Linked DNA regions of Homo sapiens: regions 1 and 2 are each linked to region 3. The links are contacts of gene promoters, found by promoter capture Hi-C in blood cells and fetal thymus (Javierre and others, 2016). All regions are on one chromosome and are shown on one strand. Each heading gives the region's core, a stretch centred on a gene start or on the middle of the fragment in contact. The rest is flanking DNA. Distances are from core to core; before and after follow the strand shown.

Region 1 (4,800 bases), core at 2,266-4,765, 150 kb after region 3:
ACTCCAACTTCTATGTTTATCTTTGTTACTTTCACTTTTTTACAACCTGGCCAGAGGCATTTTTTAAATCAGGCCCAATATCAGTATTCTTTTTGTGTGTGCCAATTTTGTTATCACATCCCTATGAAGTTGAAAAATAAAGTTAATTTTGACCAAAAGACTTCATTTGTAACCCATGATGTTCATCTGTGTGTGCACAGGATTCCTGAGTGCCTCTGCTACGAGTTACTGTTCACCTCTCTGTGCTCTTAAGTTCTTGAATCACTAGACTCCCCTTTGTATTGGGCAGAGGAAGAAACATCAGGACCCTCCAGAAAACACCAAGGCAAGGGTGAAGTATGGCAAGGAAGAGCAAGGCAAAGTCCTTCTGATGACTCCCGTGTTCAAATGTGAGATTGTCAATAATCTCACCAAGTTTCACACGTATCACTTCCTCCTATTCATGAGGCAATGCCCTTGCCCTTTTGTCCTTCAGCTTTCCATTTTGAATTATTTTCTCTTTATTTTTACACTTACTTGTTTTGAGACAAGGTCTGGCTCTATGGCCCAGGCTGGAGTGCAGTGGTGCTGCCATCTTAGTTCACTGCATTCTCTGCCTCCCGGCCTCAAGCCATCTTCCCACCTCAGGCTAATTTTTTTTTTTTTTTTTTTTTTTTTTTTTTTTTTTTTGAGACCAGAGTTTCACTCTTGCTGCTCAGGCTGGAGTGTAGTGGCGTGATCTCAGCTGATTGCAGCCTCCGCCTCCTGGGTCCAAGCAATTCTCCTGCTTCAGCCTCCCGGGTAGCTAGGATTATAAGCATACACCACCGCGCCCAGCTAATTTTTTATTTTTAGTAGAGACAGGGTTTCACCATGGTGGCCAGGCTGGTCTTGAACTCCTGGCCTCAGGTGATCCACCCGCCTTGGCCTCCCAAAGTGCTGGGATTACAGGCGTGAGCCACTGCGCCTGGCCTCTCTTTACTTTTAAACTCATTTCTAGTTTCCAAATAGTCTCCCTAAGTCCTATCTGCCTAAATCTTCCTCTGCAAGTGTGATCCCTCAGAGCTTGACTGCAGAGCAGTGCCTCTTAACCATCCAACTAGAACAGCTCTGAGCAAAAACATTTGTAGGCATCATTAATCTTCCCTGCAGTGTGCACACAGAAAGTCAGATTAACAAAATTCTATAGGAGACAAACTTACCTTCAAAAGACAAAAGAAAACCACTACATTCTTGACCACCACAGGGTATAAGCCCTTAATTATTAAGAGCTACTGCACTGAGGCAATAACTCCTAAGAAATCTTAACATTTCGCCAGGCAAGGTGGCTCATCCTGTAATCCCAGCACTGGGAGAGAATGGCACACGTAATCCTAGCCTTTAGGAGGCCAAGGCGGGAGGATTGCTTGAGCCCAGGAGTTTAAGACCAGCCTGGGCAACAGTGAGATCCCATCTTTACAAAAAATTGAAAAATCATCCAGGCATGGTGGCCTGTGCCTGTAATCCCAGCTGCTTGGGAGGCTGAGGTGGGAGAATCACTTGAGCCCAGGAGGCTGAGGCTGCAGTGAGCCAAGATCGCACTACTGAACTCCAGCCTGGGTGACAGAGCAAGAGACTCTGTCTCAAAAAAAAAAAAAAAAAAGAAATCTTACCGTCTTTAGTTCCTATCACCATTACTGCAGATTTAGAAGCAATCTACCTGAATCAGAAAATAGAGCTCAAATAAGTTGTGTGGCTTGGTATAATCTGGGAAAATCAGTTTCAAAAGTTACCTGCCCTTGGGATAGAACTTTTTGTCAACACCAGTTTTCAAAAAGTACCCTAGTTATGAGGCCGTTGCTGGGTAAACTTTATCCCATTCCAGCTTCAACCAGAGGAACCTGTACATCCTAAAGTTTCACATAAGATTACACTTGAAGAATAGGTTTCTCCATTAAAAGACTTGAAAACTACTGGTCTTCAGGCTCCCTACCTGTTTAATCTGTCAAGACATTGCCAGCTTAAATTTCGGACAGTTACATAAGTGTCCCTGTTAACTTCAAATGGCCCTGACAGGAATGCTAAAACGTCAGACATTCAAATGGGCCAAGCTTTATCAGGATTATAAAACTTTCAAAGCTCAAAAACATGCCATCTCTATGGGAAACAGTATCTTGGATTTGATGTTACAAAAGGAACAAGAAAATGGTTTCTGAATGGCAGCTTTCAGTTTACAAGTAGTGGCAAAGTAAATGCTTGGATGTTATGAGGTAGTTGATCTAAATTGTGAGGCTTTCTTAAAGGCACTCCTTTGATCTCATGGAGTGAGAGACTAGAAATCTATTCAACGTATTAAAACTCCTCTCCCAGCAAAATAAAATAAACAAAACATCCTCCTCCTAATGGCTGAAGTTCCATCTAGCTGCTATGGCCATTTTATGGAGCATGGTGCCATCTTGTGGCCACTCTCAAACCACCCATTGTTAATCAAGTGCAATTACAGCATGTTAAGAGTGAAAAGGAAAGCTATTTGGAGCCATGGTCACTTGGGATATTTTCAAATGTTCTCAAAGAACATGACATTTTGGTTACTTTTAGAATTTTATTGACTTTTTTCTTCATAACTTTAAAACAAAAACAGCGCATGAAAACCAGTGTCTTATTCCAAAGTCTCAACTCAGCTGATTGCCAGGTGAACATCACCATCTTACTCCTCTGAATAACTAGACACAAATTACATAGCAAGTTCGAGTTTCTGCCCACCCAAGACACAGCCAGTAATCAGTCACAAACACAGACACAGCCAACTCCAGGGGCTCCAGCTTTCTGCCCATCTTCTCTCAGCAGTTCCTCCCATCTGCTAAGATGCGCCTTCCTGGTGGCTCTCTCTCAAGGTGGGTCAAGGCTGAACAAGACAGAAAAGCACAGTCTAGGTCCACCATCACCTCCCACTGGCCACCAGTTGGCCAGCCAGGAAATCATTTCTGTACATCTTTTGTCTCCCCCTTTTATCTCCCTCTCTCTTCTCCAAAACTTGTTGCTATCTATCACTTTCATGTAACAATGGACTTAGTGTCCATTAAACTGCCTGAGAAGTGGTTTGAGCCTGACATATTTTCCTGAGCTAAAAAAGGAAAAGTACCTCTGTGGCCTTCTTGCCATTAAGATCAAGTAAAAAAGGGACTAGCACTACTGAAAAGGGTCACGCTAGAAAAGCCTTAGAATCCTCTCTCCACCCCGTGAAGGTTTCTCTAGCTGTAGCTCTTAAGGGTACAAGACGGCAAATATTCTGGGGTGAAGGAGGTATAATGGGGAAACACATTTATTTTCCCCTTTTAAACTTCCCTGCTGCCCCAGTCTTTGCCTTCTTCTTAGTGGATCCCTTGGGTTCTGGCTCCTTGCGCTTAGCTGAAGAGAGTGAGCCGGTCACCTTGAAGAAATCATCCAGGCGGCCCTGGGTGCTGCCTTGGCGGCTCTTACTCAGCCTCTTGACCCCACTGCGGATTCGCTCCTCAGAGAACTGCTTTTCACCACACATGAACTTGATCAGCTCTTCTTCATTTGGCTCGCTCCACTTCAGCTCCACAGACTCTGGGTCCAGCACCTCAGGTTCCAAGAAGAGCTGGTGAGCCTCCTTGTGGAGCCAATTTTCTGGCACAGGGTACTTGTTGGGGTCAAGTCGCCGCACGATCTCCTCGATGCTCTTGTGCTTCTGGATGAGGTCCACAGCCCGCTTGGGCCCAATACCCCGGATACTCTCACAGTAGTCACTGCCTAGCAGGATGCACAGATCCACAAACTGTTCCTGGTTCAGGCCCAGCTCCTGCAGAATCCGGCTCAGGTGGAATTCCTGGATTGGCAGCTTTTTGGCTTCACTGGCAGTCAGGTGTCGCATTAGCACAGGGCTGCCGAAGGTGAGGCAGTCCATGTCCTCGGTAGCCGCAGCATAGACTTTGCCAGCCTTCACCAGGGCAGCACAGCTGGCCTCTGCCTCACTGGGTGCATCAAGATAAGGGATGCCCATGAGGCTCAGCAGATGTTTGCACTCATCATTGTGCTGCTTAGTGACCTTCACCAGCCGCTTAGTGAATTTTTCCACCTCCTGCTCGGCCCCAGCAGCCTGAGCCTGCTGCAGCTGCTTCTCTGCCTCAGCCCGCCGCTCACTGCGTTTGGCCAGCTCGCCTGACTTGAGCTGTGGCGGCTTGCCATCAAAGACATACACGGGCTTGATGCCGTTCTCCATCATGCGAATGGTGCGGTAGAACATGCCCATCAGGTGGCTGGTGGTCTCACCCTCCTCATTCTGCAGCACATCCCCACCCTGGCGAACAGCAATCAGGAACTGATAAATGCTCATAGAGGCATCAATGGCCACCTTACGGCCAAAGTAGCTCTTGATGTCATTCTCCCGGATGGCACTGGGGGCCACATCAGCAATTAGTTTGGCCAGGCCTTGAATTCCCATGGCAACACAGAGGAGGGATGACTAAAAAAGAAAGGCAAGTCAGAGACGGAGGAAAGGAGAAAGGTTATAACTGGTGTTATCTCACCAACTTCATGCCTTCAACTAAATTCCACACAACAAAAAGGACACCATGTCAGCACTGCTAAAGATAAAAAGATGAACAAGGTCCCCATTCTCAAAAAACTCAGTCTAGCAGGAGAATTTACTCAATAGTAAGGCTCAACGAGTACCAGAAATTGAACCACGTGCTTAGAGAAATAAGATACTGTTGATATTCTAAGGTAGCAGCATTATTTATTACACAAAAAAAACCTGCAACATAGGTCTCCATCAAGGACCACAGAAGGCCAGGATGCTTGGCCTGGCTTGAGGAGTCC
Region 2 (4,808 bases), core at 1,855-4,354, 140 kb before region 3:
GGACTTGGTGTCCTTTTTAGACCCAGGAGTCAAAGCCCTGTAACTCAATGTCACGAGTATGTTAAAAGCACATACAGAAAGATACACAGATGTAATAACCTTAATTAAAAAAATTTGTAATCACAGATTTTCCTAAGCAAGCCAAAACTTAATAATAATGCCACAGGAATAATTTTGATAAAATGTAAAATCTGTTAGACTAGTTACCAAAAGGCAAAAGAAAAGACCTTCTGCAGTGTACAGAATATTATATTGGAAGAAAACATTTCCTTTCAATCTTTAAGAAAATATTATTAGCATCAGGCCACAACAAACAGAATTTGAGGGAAAAAAAAAACTTCTATGAGCTGAAAATGAGTTGAAGGAGAACATTATTATTTCATGTCTTTTAAAAGGGGAGAGAAAACCGAAAATGGCAAGATGCAATAAAAGTTGAAATTGGGGTTAAAAAAATTAAAATATCTTATTATTTATTATGAGTAAATAAATCCTGTAAGGAAACTTTGTTGTTCTAATCAATTCTTTAGTGTACACATGTTTTTCTTACATCAAACCCAATCTCTAGAAAAACCAGTATAATTTCCCTTTAATTATAGACAAGTTGATCATGTAAAAGTTTTTTTAAAAATAAATCCTTTTATTGTGACTTACACAGACCATTCATGACATGCTTGGACTTTCTGGTTTGTCCCAAACATTCCTCTTTCTTAAACAACTAGTCATTTTATTCTAGGTCTAAATTTACCATACAAGATTCTTTCTTATATAAAATTATTTCTCTTTAAGCTTTCTTACCCCCCCAAAAAAACCCTCTTTATTTCTATAACTTTCTTTATATCTCTCTTATTTCCTGGTTCCTTTTACCTTGTTTTATACATAACCTTTAAATAAGCTTTGAATTTGACAAAATTTGTTCACCTTTTTAAAAAGGACACTTTTCTTAAGAAACAATTTTTTCATACAATATATATTTTTATTTGAAAATACCCAAATAATGAAATATCTACTATTTAATTTAACTCTAGATTCTAAATTATGACCAGTTTGTCTACAAGTATTTATCTCATTACATTTACCTAGTTATTTTATTTTGTTTACCTAGATTATTTATGAAAACTGTGATAGTCATCATTTAAAGCTATGAAACTTGCCACTGCAAAATTCTAACTGAGACAATGAAAAAGATATGACCTAACTGACTCCATCTTGCTTCTAACCTCCAAGCTGTCCTTGTTCATTCCTGAATTTTGGGAGGAACTTAATTTATAGTTTAGCATTGAAACAAAGACAATAGCAGTCCTTTCCCAAAACAAACCTCCTTACTGCCTGTAGACTAGACTGCCTAAAGCCACAAGATTAGAAGTTATGGTAATTTTACTAAGTAATTCCAGATGTAGCTATTTTTGTTAAACAATATCAATGTCTTGTTTATTAAAGATCGGCAAGCAAGAATCATTCTGTTTTGGGCTGGGTTTATGGTTTTGTAACCCCTGTGCCAAATTTTGACACCTTATAGTATTTGGCTAGGATAAGTATGAAATTGCTAGATTAATAAATGCAAATAAAATGTATGCTGGAAATTCTTAAGACATTTCTAATATTATTTTACCAATAATTTTAAAGCTAGCTTACTTATTAAAGATTTTACTTAAGTCATGTAAACTTGAAAAATAATTTGACTAGTTTTTCCTTTTTCTGATAAAGTATTTTATTTCAATGCTTTTATTTTTCTTTAAGCCAATTAATTAGACCTCTTTTATATATTTTTGGTAGTGAAACATTGTGTATACAACACATAAATACATAGATGTATTAGGAATGCCAATAGAAATACATCTTATAGGTTGGGTGCAGTGGCTCACGCCTATAATCCCAGCACTTTGGGAGGCTAACATGGGTGGATCACCTGAGATCAGGAGCTTGAGACCAGCCTGACCAACATGGTGAAACCCCACCTCTACTAAAAATACAAAAAATTAGCCGGGCATGGTTGTGGGCTCTTGTAATCCCAGCTACTCAGGAGGCTGAGGCAGGAGAACTGTTTGAACCTGGGGGATGGAGGTTGCAGTGAGCCAAGATCGTGCCACTGCATTCCAGCCTGGGCAACAGAGAGAGACTCTGTCTCAAAAAAAAAAAAAAAAAAAAAAGGCCAGGCGCAGTGGCTCATGCTTGTAATCCCAGCACTTTGGGAGGCTGAGGTGGGCAGATCACGAGGTCAGGAGTTTGAGACCAGTCTGGCCAACATAGTGGAACCCTGTCTCTACTAAAAATAAAAAAAATTATCTGGGTGTGGTGGCGGGCACCTGTAATCCCAGCTACTTGGGAGGCTGAGGCAGGAGAATCGTTTGAAGCTGGGAGCGGAGGTTGTAGTAAGCCATGATTGCGCCACTGCACTCCAGGCCAGTGGACAGTGCGAGACTCCATCTCAAAAAAAAAAAAAAAAAAAAAAAAAAGAATTACATCTTATAGACTTAATAAACACACCTTTTTTTTTTTTTCCTATCTTAGACTTTCAGATACTTGATAACCTGTTTCACAACACTAGGCAGTTGTCAGTTAAATAGCCTTAAATGTGCATATTAAAGGAAAGAACTCAGCTGAAAATCAAATAGAAAAATTTACATCATAAGGTACAGAGAGTAAAAGTCTGGTGGTGCTAGAGGAAGATTAAAGATGGATGCCAAATTGAACATAAAATTATAGAAATCTATCATAGGATTGTATAAGGGGATCAATTTTATTTAGATAGGGCCTACTTATCTTTTAACTGGATCTCTGAGCTCTGGGAAAGCCCACGTTGAATCTTGGGTCTCCAAAAAGGGAGAATTATTATGAGGTTAGACCATGTGATGCTTTTACTGTACACTTAAAAAACATTTTTTTTCGACAAAGACATTTCCAAGTGTCTAAACCACACTTTTCCTCAAAAACCCAAAAGTAAGGCCAGGCACAGTTCCTCATGCCTACAATCCCAGCACTTTGGGAGGCCGAGATGGGTGAATTGCTTGAGCCCAGGAATTCAAGACCAGCCTGGGCATTAGAGTGAGACTGCATCCCTACCAAAAAAAAAAAAAAGAATTAAATAAAATAAAAAGAAGGGATGCAGGCCTGATAACACCTTGGTTTTTAGCTCATAAAGACCCATTTTGGACCTCTGACCCCAGAACTATAAGATAATAAATGTGTGGGGTGGTTTTGGTTTTTGGAATTTTTTTCTTTTTCTTCTTTCTTTCTTTATTTTTTAGAGACAAGGTCTCACTGTGTTGCCAGGCTGGTCTCAAACTCCTGAGCTCAAGCAATTTTCTCACCTCGGCCCCCCAAAGTGCTGGGATTACAGGCATGCACCACTGAGCCCAGCCTTGTGTTGTTTTAAACCACGAAATTTGTGGTAATTTGTTTCAACAACCATAGGAAATTATTTCACCCACCCTGCTTGTTTGTTTTCTCTTTCTGCTGTCTGAAGTTTCTCCCTTTCAGTTTTAGAGCTGAGAAGATCTATCAAACATGAATTTGGCCACAAGCTGACTCTTTCTCTAGGGGTAAATCTTGACCATTTACTAAAATGGGGAAAACAGATCAGTAATGACAGGAGTGAAGAGAAGGCTAGCTAGTGTATGTCCAGTGCTTTGTAAAGTTGCAAGGCTTTTTTCCTAAACCACACATATCCCACATATACACCTAAAAACCTAACACTACAAGGCCATACATGAATTGCCAGAATTATACAGACCTTTTCTGAAATGGTTATAACCTGAATGGTATAAGCATTGGACAAAAACACGTTGAAATCTGAGATCTCTGCAGTTGTATCCCCACAATATTTGAAGAAATAATTTATTGCCAGGCATGATGGCTCACGCCTGTAATCCCAACACTTTGCGAGGCCAAGGCGGGCGGATCACGAGGTCAGGAGTTCGAGATCAGCCTGGCCAATATGGTGAAACCCCGTCTCTACTAAAAATACAAAAATTAGCCAGGCATGGTAGTGGGAGCCTGTAATCCCAGCTACCTGGGAGGCTGAGGCAGGAGAATTGCTTGAACCCGGGAGGCGGAGGTTGCAGTGAGCCGAGATCACGTCACTGCACTCCAGCCTAGGTGACAGAGTGAGACTCCATCTCAAAAAATAAATAAATAAATAAATAAATAAATAAATAAATAAATAAAATAAATATGATTGGGTACGATCTAACACTAACAGGCTGAATGGGGAAACCCAACAAGGCCCATCTGATCAGATTCTTCTTGGTCTCTCTGTGCAGCATTCCTTCCAGGGAATAGGGCAGGACCTGTCTGAAATGAGGGTATTGTGACCTACAATCAAAGTAGGCCAGAGAATTTCCTCATGACCAGCTCCTAGACAGAAAGATAGGAAAAGAAGCAGGTAAAAGGTGGGGAGAAAAAAGGAGCAGGTAAAAGGTGGGCAGGAGAAGGTCAGAGAGAGAGAGAGAGATTCTGTTTCCTGAAGCCTGCTTGTGAGAACTAAAGTGCCCTAACATTATAACAGAAACTGTAATAACAAGAGCTATGGGAGTTATAAGCCAAGAATCATGGGTGAAAACATTTTATATATATATATATGAAAGACATATATATGTTTATAACACATATGTATATGAAATGCATACATATATGAGACACACATATATGTTTTTTCATCCATGGTTCTTGGTTTTATATAAATATCACAACATGTATTTTCAAAAGTGTGAAGCAATTGAAATTCTCCTACTTGAGGACCATAAATAGTTTAATCACTTTATTTTATTTATTTATTTATTTATTTATTTTAGACAGAGTCTCGCTTTGTT
Region 3 (4,469 bases), core at 8-2,507:
TAGAAACGCAAGAAAGTGAGCCCAGAGGCTGCCCTTTGCTTTGGCAGGGAAGACGTAGATAGGCGTGTGCATTGCCATGTGCCTTTAACTTTCTATAATCACTGGGCGCAGTGGCTCATGCCTATAATCCCAGCACTTTGGGAAGTCGAGGCAGGTGGATCACCTAAGGTCAGGAGTTCGAGACCAGCCTGGCCAACATGGTGAAACCCTGTCTCTACTAAAAATACAAAAAAATTATCCAGGCGTGGTGCGGGTGCCTGTAATCCCAGCTACTCAGGAGGCTGAGGCAGGAGAATCGCTTGAACCCAGGAGGTGGAGGTTGCAGTGAGCTGAGATCACGCCATTGCACTCCAGCCTGGGTAAGAAGAGCAAAACTCTGTCTAAAAATAAATAAATAAATAAATAAATAATACAATGACAAAGGCAGTAACAGCAGCAATGTCTACACACTAAGCTCAGGTCCTCTGGGCTAGGCAGTGTTCTCAGCCCATCTTGTTCGTTAGCTCCCAAGCTCTCTCAACCACCCTAGTGTGAGAAGTATGGAAGGGACCAGGCAGCCCTGTCCACCACCATATTCCCATTCCCATAATGGAACCTAGCTGGTAGAGATGCTCAAATGATGTTTACTGAATGGTGGCTCCAGGGCCTTTCCACCTGCTGATCTTCCTGCCTGGAGGAAGCTCTTCCTGAGATACCTGCATGGTTCCTTCCCACTCCAGGTTCCCTTTAGAAAGGATGTTCCCAACCATCCAACCTGGAAATAGAGCCCCACTGCCACCGGTGCTCTGTGTCTCCTCACCTTGCTTGATATTTCTAGAGAGCACTTATCACTACTTGAAATTATACAGGATATCTGCCTGTTTCCTGCCTGTTTCCTCCTCAGAATGGAAGCTCCTCTTGTGTTCTCGTAGAAGGCGCTCAATAAAAATTTACTGAAGCAGTGATTGATGCCCCCTCCATTCTTTCCCTGTGTGTTTTGCTGCAGCCACACTGGCTGGCTGTGCCTGATGCACACCAAGCTCATTCCCACCTCAGGGCATTTGCACAGACACACAGGTGCCCACACACCTGCGCATGTGCTGCCTGTGTGTGCATATCCCACACAAATACGCAAGATGGCCATCCAACCCTGAAGGCCTCAAAGCCCCAGCCCAGTCCACCTGGGGCACCTTGTACTCACAGGTGGGGTTCCAGGTGGGTCCGATGATCCCACAGAAGGTCTGGCGACTAGGCTGGTGGGACTCCCTGGGACTCTGTGGCCAGTGCCCCTGCCCACTCTTAGAGGCTGGCACTGCCCACGTGAGTGCTGAGCCGCCGTCACTTGACTCCCTAAGCCAGGACCTCCACAAAGGAGTCCTTGTCTTAGTCCCTTCTTGTAATCTGCTCAGAAGCAACGGCTAGCACAGCCTGGCCATGGCCCCTCTAATTTCTTCTTGGAGGGTGTTGGGCTGAGACCAGGGCTGGAATTTAGGGCAACACCCCCTCTACCATGGCCCTAAAATCCAGAGGCTAAAGGATCTGCTCCACCAGTGTTCTGACCCCTGAGGCCTTGCAGAGAGAGTTGGGGGTTAGGGGGCTGTGCTGAGCTTCAACTTCTGTGCCAGGAACTCTCCAGGAAGGAGGAGCCTCTGACTAGGCCCTGGGGTCTTTGACAGCCCTGTGGGCTATGGAAAGAATGAATACCGGGCTGCAGTCAACAGTCCTGGTTTCTGGTCCCAGCCTTGCCACCTGTGTGTGGTGACCCCGGGTAGGTTTCAGCTCCTCTCTCAGCCTCAGTGCCCTTATCTGAAAAGGATGGTGTTGCTTGGGAATTTCATCACCCTAGTAAAATGACAGAATTCTGCATATGCTGACGAGGAGCTCTGATTGGCTGCTGGTGACATCATACGTTATTCTGGCTGTGATTGGCTGGCAGGGCCCATCAGTAAGTTGCTTCAGAGAGATGGAAGGAGAAGCCTGCCGGGGCTGGTGGAGGGGGGTGAGTCTGGTGGGGGTTGACAGAACAGCCCTGGAGTTTATGCTGCTGGCTTCCAGCCAGCCAGTGCAATATGGGAATAAATGCCCAGATCCCCACGGGCAGCTGGTGAAAATCTCAGCATGTGATTCAATAAATTTTAATACATCAATCCATACTCAAGGGCTCTCCTAAGCTGTTGGAAGTGGTGGGTGTCTACCTACACACTCCTCTTGTATTGTTCAATGAAGAGAGCAGAGCTCTAGGCAGCAGTGGTTCTTGGTCTTTAGAGGCCGTAAGAATCGCCCAAATGTTTATTAAACGGGCAGTTTTCTGGATCTTTCTCCAGAGTCTGAGTCTGTGGCCTTAGGGATGTTGCATTTTAATCAAGCACTGCAGGGGATTATGAGATGTGTGGTTTTGGGACTAAACTTCCAGAAGCCCTGATTTTATAATATGACCTTGTGTCTTAAACCCACTCTCATCCTCCCTTTCCTGTCACCCTCTCTCTCTGAAATGTACTAAGCGTTAACTATGCTGAGATTGCAGGTGATTTTTCTACACACCACTTTTTTTTTCACTTTAAGTTCTGGGATACGTGTGCAGAATGTACAGGTTTGTTACATAGGTATACATGATGTGCAGGTTTGTTACATAGGTATACGTGTGCCATGGTGGTTTGCTGCACCTGTCAACCCATCATCTAGGTTTTAAGCCTTGCGTGCATTAGGTATTTGTCCTAATGCTCTCCCTCCCCTTGTCCCCCACCCCCACACACCATTTTTGCCTTTATATAATTATCTGCCTAGAAAAAAAAACACTATTTCGCAATGACCTTGAATACTTTTCTAATCATGGCAAACAATAAAGCTGTTGTTATTATAAGACTCTCTTTAGAGGCAGCCTTGTAGGAGTATTTACTGCCTCCCCGCTGCCCCATCGCTGTCCTCAACTGATATGGGGAAAGAAGCAGGTTCACTTCAGCCTCAGTCTCCTCATATGCAAAATGGGACAACGATGCCTACCTTGGCAGCCGAATGAGAATGATGGATGGGACATGTGTCCGTCAACTCTCCAAACCACTGGTGCCTGTGCCTGACCCCTACGAATTCTGATTTGATTGGTCTGGATGGACCCCAGGTGTTGGGATTGTTCAAGTTCTCCAGGTGATTCTGATTTTATGGCCTGTGCTGAGTCATTGCTTAATGGATTATTTCCCTATCCTGTATTCCCTTCCCAACCAACACATCCTGAAACTCAAGAGCTTTCCATTTAGAAGATGATAAATATATATTATATATATTTATATATTAACATATGTAAATATGTATTAATATGTCTATAATATTACAAATATATTTGTATGTACACATATATTTATACATATAAATATATAAGTAAATATATAACTATATTTTTGAGACAAGGTCACCCAGGCTGGAGTGCAATGGGTGTGATTTTGGCTCATTGCAACCTCCACTTCCCAGGCTCAAGCAATCCTCCCATCTCAGCCTCCCAAGTCGCTGGGACTACAGACGCACACCACCACACCCAGCTATTTTTTTTTTTTTTATAGAGATAGGGTCTCACTACATTACCCAGGCTGGTATTGAGCTCTAAGTTCAAGCAGTCCTCCCACCTAGGCCTCCCAAAGTGGTGGGATTACAGGAGTGAGCCGCCACACTCGGCCAATAAGTATGTTTTAACTAAAGTTAACACACATGCCTGGCACCATGCCTGGAACATTGATGCTCATTCTGTACTCTCTGAAGGAATAAATGAAAATCCTGCCTTTGTGGAGACAAGTTCTTGCCTTCCCTGTGGTGGCCACTAGAGAGCGTGCTTGACTAGCTGGCTCTGGCTGGGGAAGCCTGGTTCACTGGTCAGGATCAGTGCAGACCACGGAGCTGGCACTGCTTCATCTCCCTGACCCCGACCAGCAGCCATAGAGCCATGAGAGGGAGTTGGAGACACTAGAGTCCCTCCTCCCTGTTCCCTGAACCGCAGGCTCCTTGGCAATATCCCAGGAGTACCACCAGGACCATAGACAGTGCATGGCCAGTCTCCCTTCCCCTCCCAGAGGCCCCAGCATGTCCCCAGAGACATCCCATGAGCAGCTGCTCCTGGCCCTGCCCCAGAGCTGAGACAGGCACACCCTGGCACAAGTCATGGTCTCTCCTACTGGGTCTCAGCTATGAAAATGTCCCCAGTTAGCCAGGCACGGCTCAGGCACACAGCAAAGTCATGAGTGCTGATTGACCCAAGCCATGCCTGGAACAAGAGTCCCAGGATTGACCCCTGCAGAGATGGCACCCAACCCAGTCAAGGTCGCCCTCTTCTGCTTTCCGTTCCGCAAAGAAAATATTCGCCAAACCATTTCTCCTTCCAGAACTGAGCCTAATCTGATTCCTGCCTGTACGTATTCATAGTCAAAAAATTTGGAAACACTTAAATAACAACTCTAACACAGAATGGCAAGGCCTAAGATCTGTGCCAAGTGCACAGAGGTCAGGGA

The links. The method cuts DNA at HindIII sites, captures the fragments that hold promoters and counts their contacts. A CHiCAGO score of 5 or more calls a contact.
Region 1: a contact is called between a fragment that was not itself captured here and the fragment with the promoter of BEST1 in region 3, in 17 of 17 cell types (neutrophils, total B cells, naive CD4 T cells and 14 more). The highest score is 23.7, in neutrophils.
Region 2: a contact is called between a fragment that was not itself captured here and the fragment with the promoter of BEST1 in region 3, in 15 of 17 cell types (neutrophils, erythroblasts, megakaryocytes and 12 more). The highest score is 32.9, in neutrophils.

The regions. Positions count from the first base shown.
Region 1 is chr11:61,794,985-61,799,784 of GRCh38, reverse strand. It overlaps FEN1 (flap structure-specific endonuclease 1), which reads right to left. Exons shown (of 2, transcript NM_004111.6): 2 at 2,547-4,444. The coding sequence starts at 4,423. The coding sequence ends at 3,281. It overlaps FADS1 (fatty acid desaturase 1), which reads left to right. Exons shown (of 12, transcript NM_013402.7): 12 at 1-158. Among named protein-coding and RNA genes, the nearest start is that of FEN1, 4.5 kb to the right of the region's middle. RefSeq lists an enhancer at 3,939-4,439. The HindIII fragment of the contact is 2,888 bases long and covers 2,072-4,800 here.
Region 2 is chr11:62,084,336-62,089,143 of GRCh38, reverse strand. No RefSeq gene overlaps it. Among named protein-coding and RNA genes, the nearest start is that of LINC02733, 4.4 kb to the right of the region's middle. The HindIII fragment of the contact is 4,419 bases long and covers 895-4,808 here.
Region 3 is chr11:61,947,139-61,951,607 of GRCh38, reverse strand. It overlaps BEST1 (bestrophin 1), which reads right to left and starts at 1,257. Exons shown (of 11, transcript NM_004183.4): 1 at 1,181-1,257. The HindIII fragment of the contact is 17,311 bases long and covers 1-4,469 here.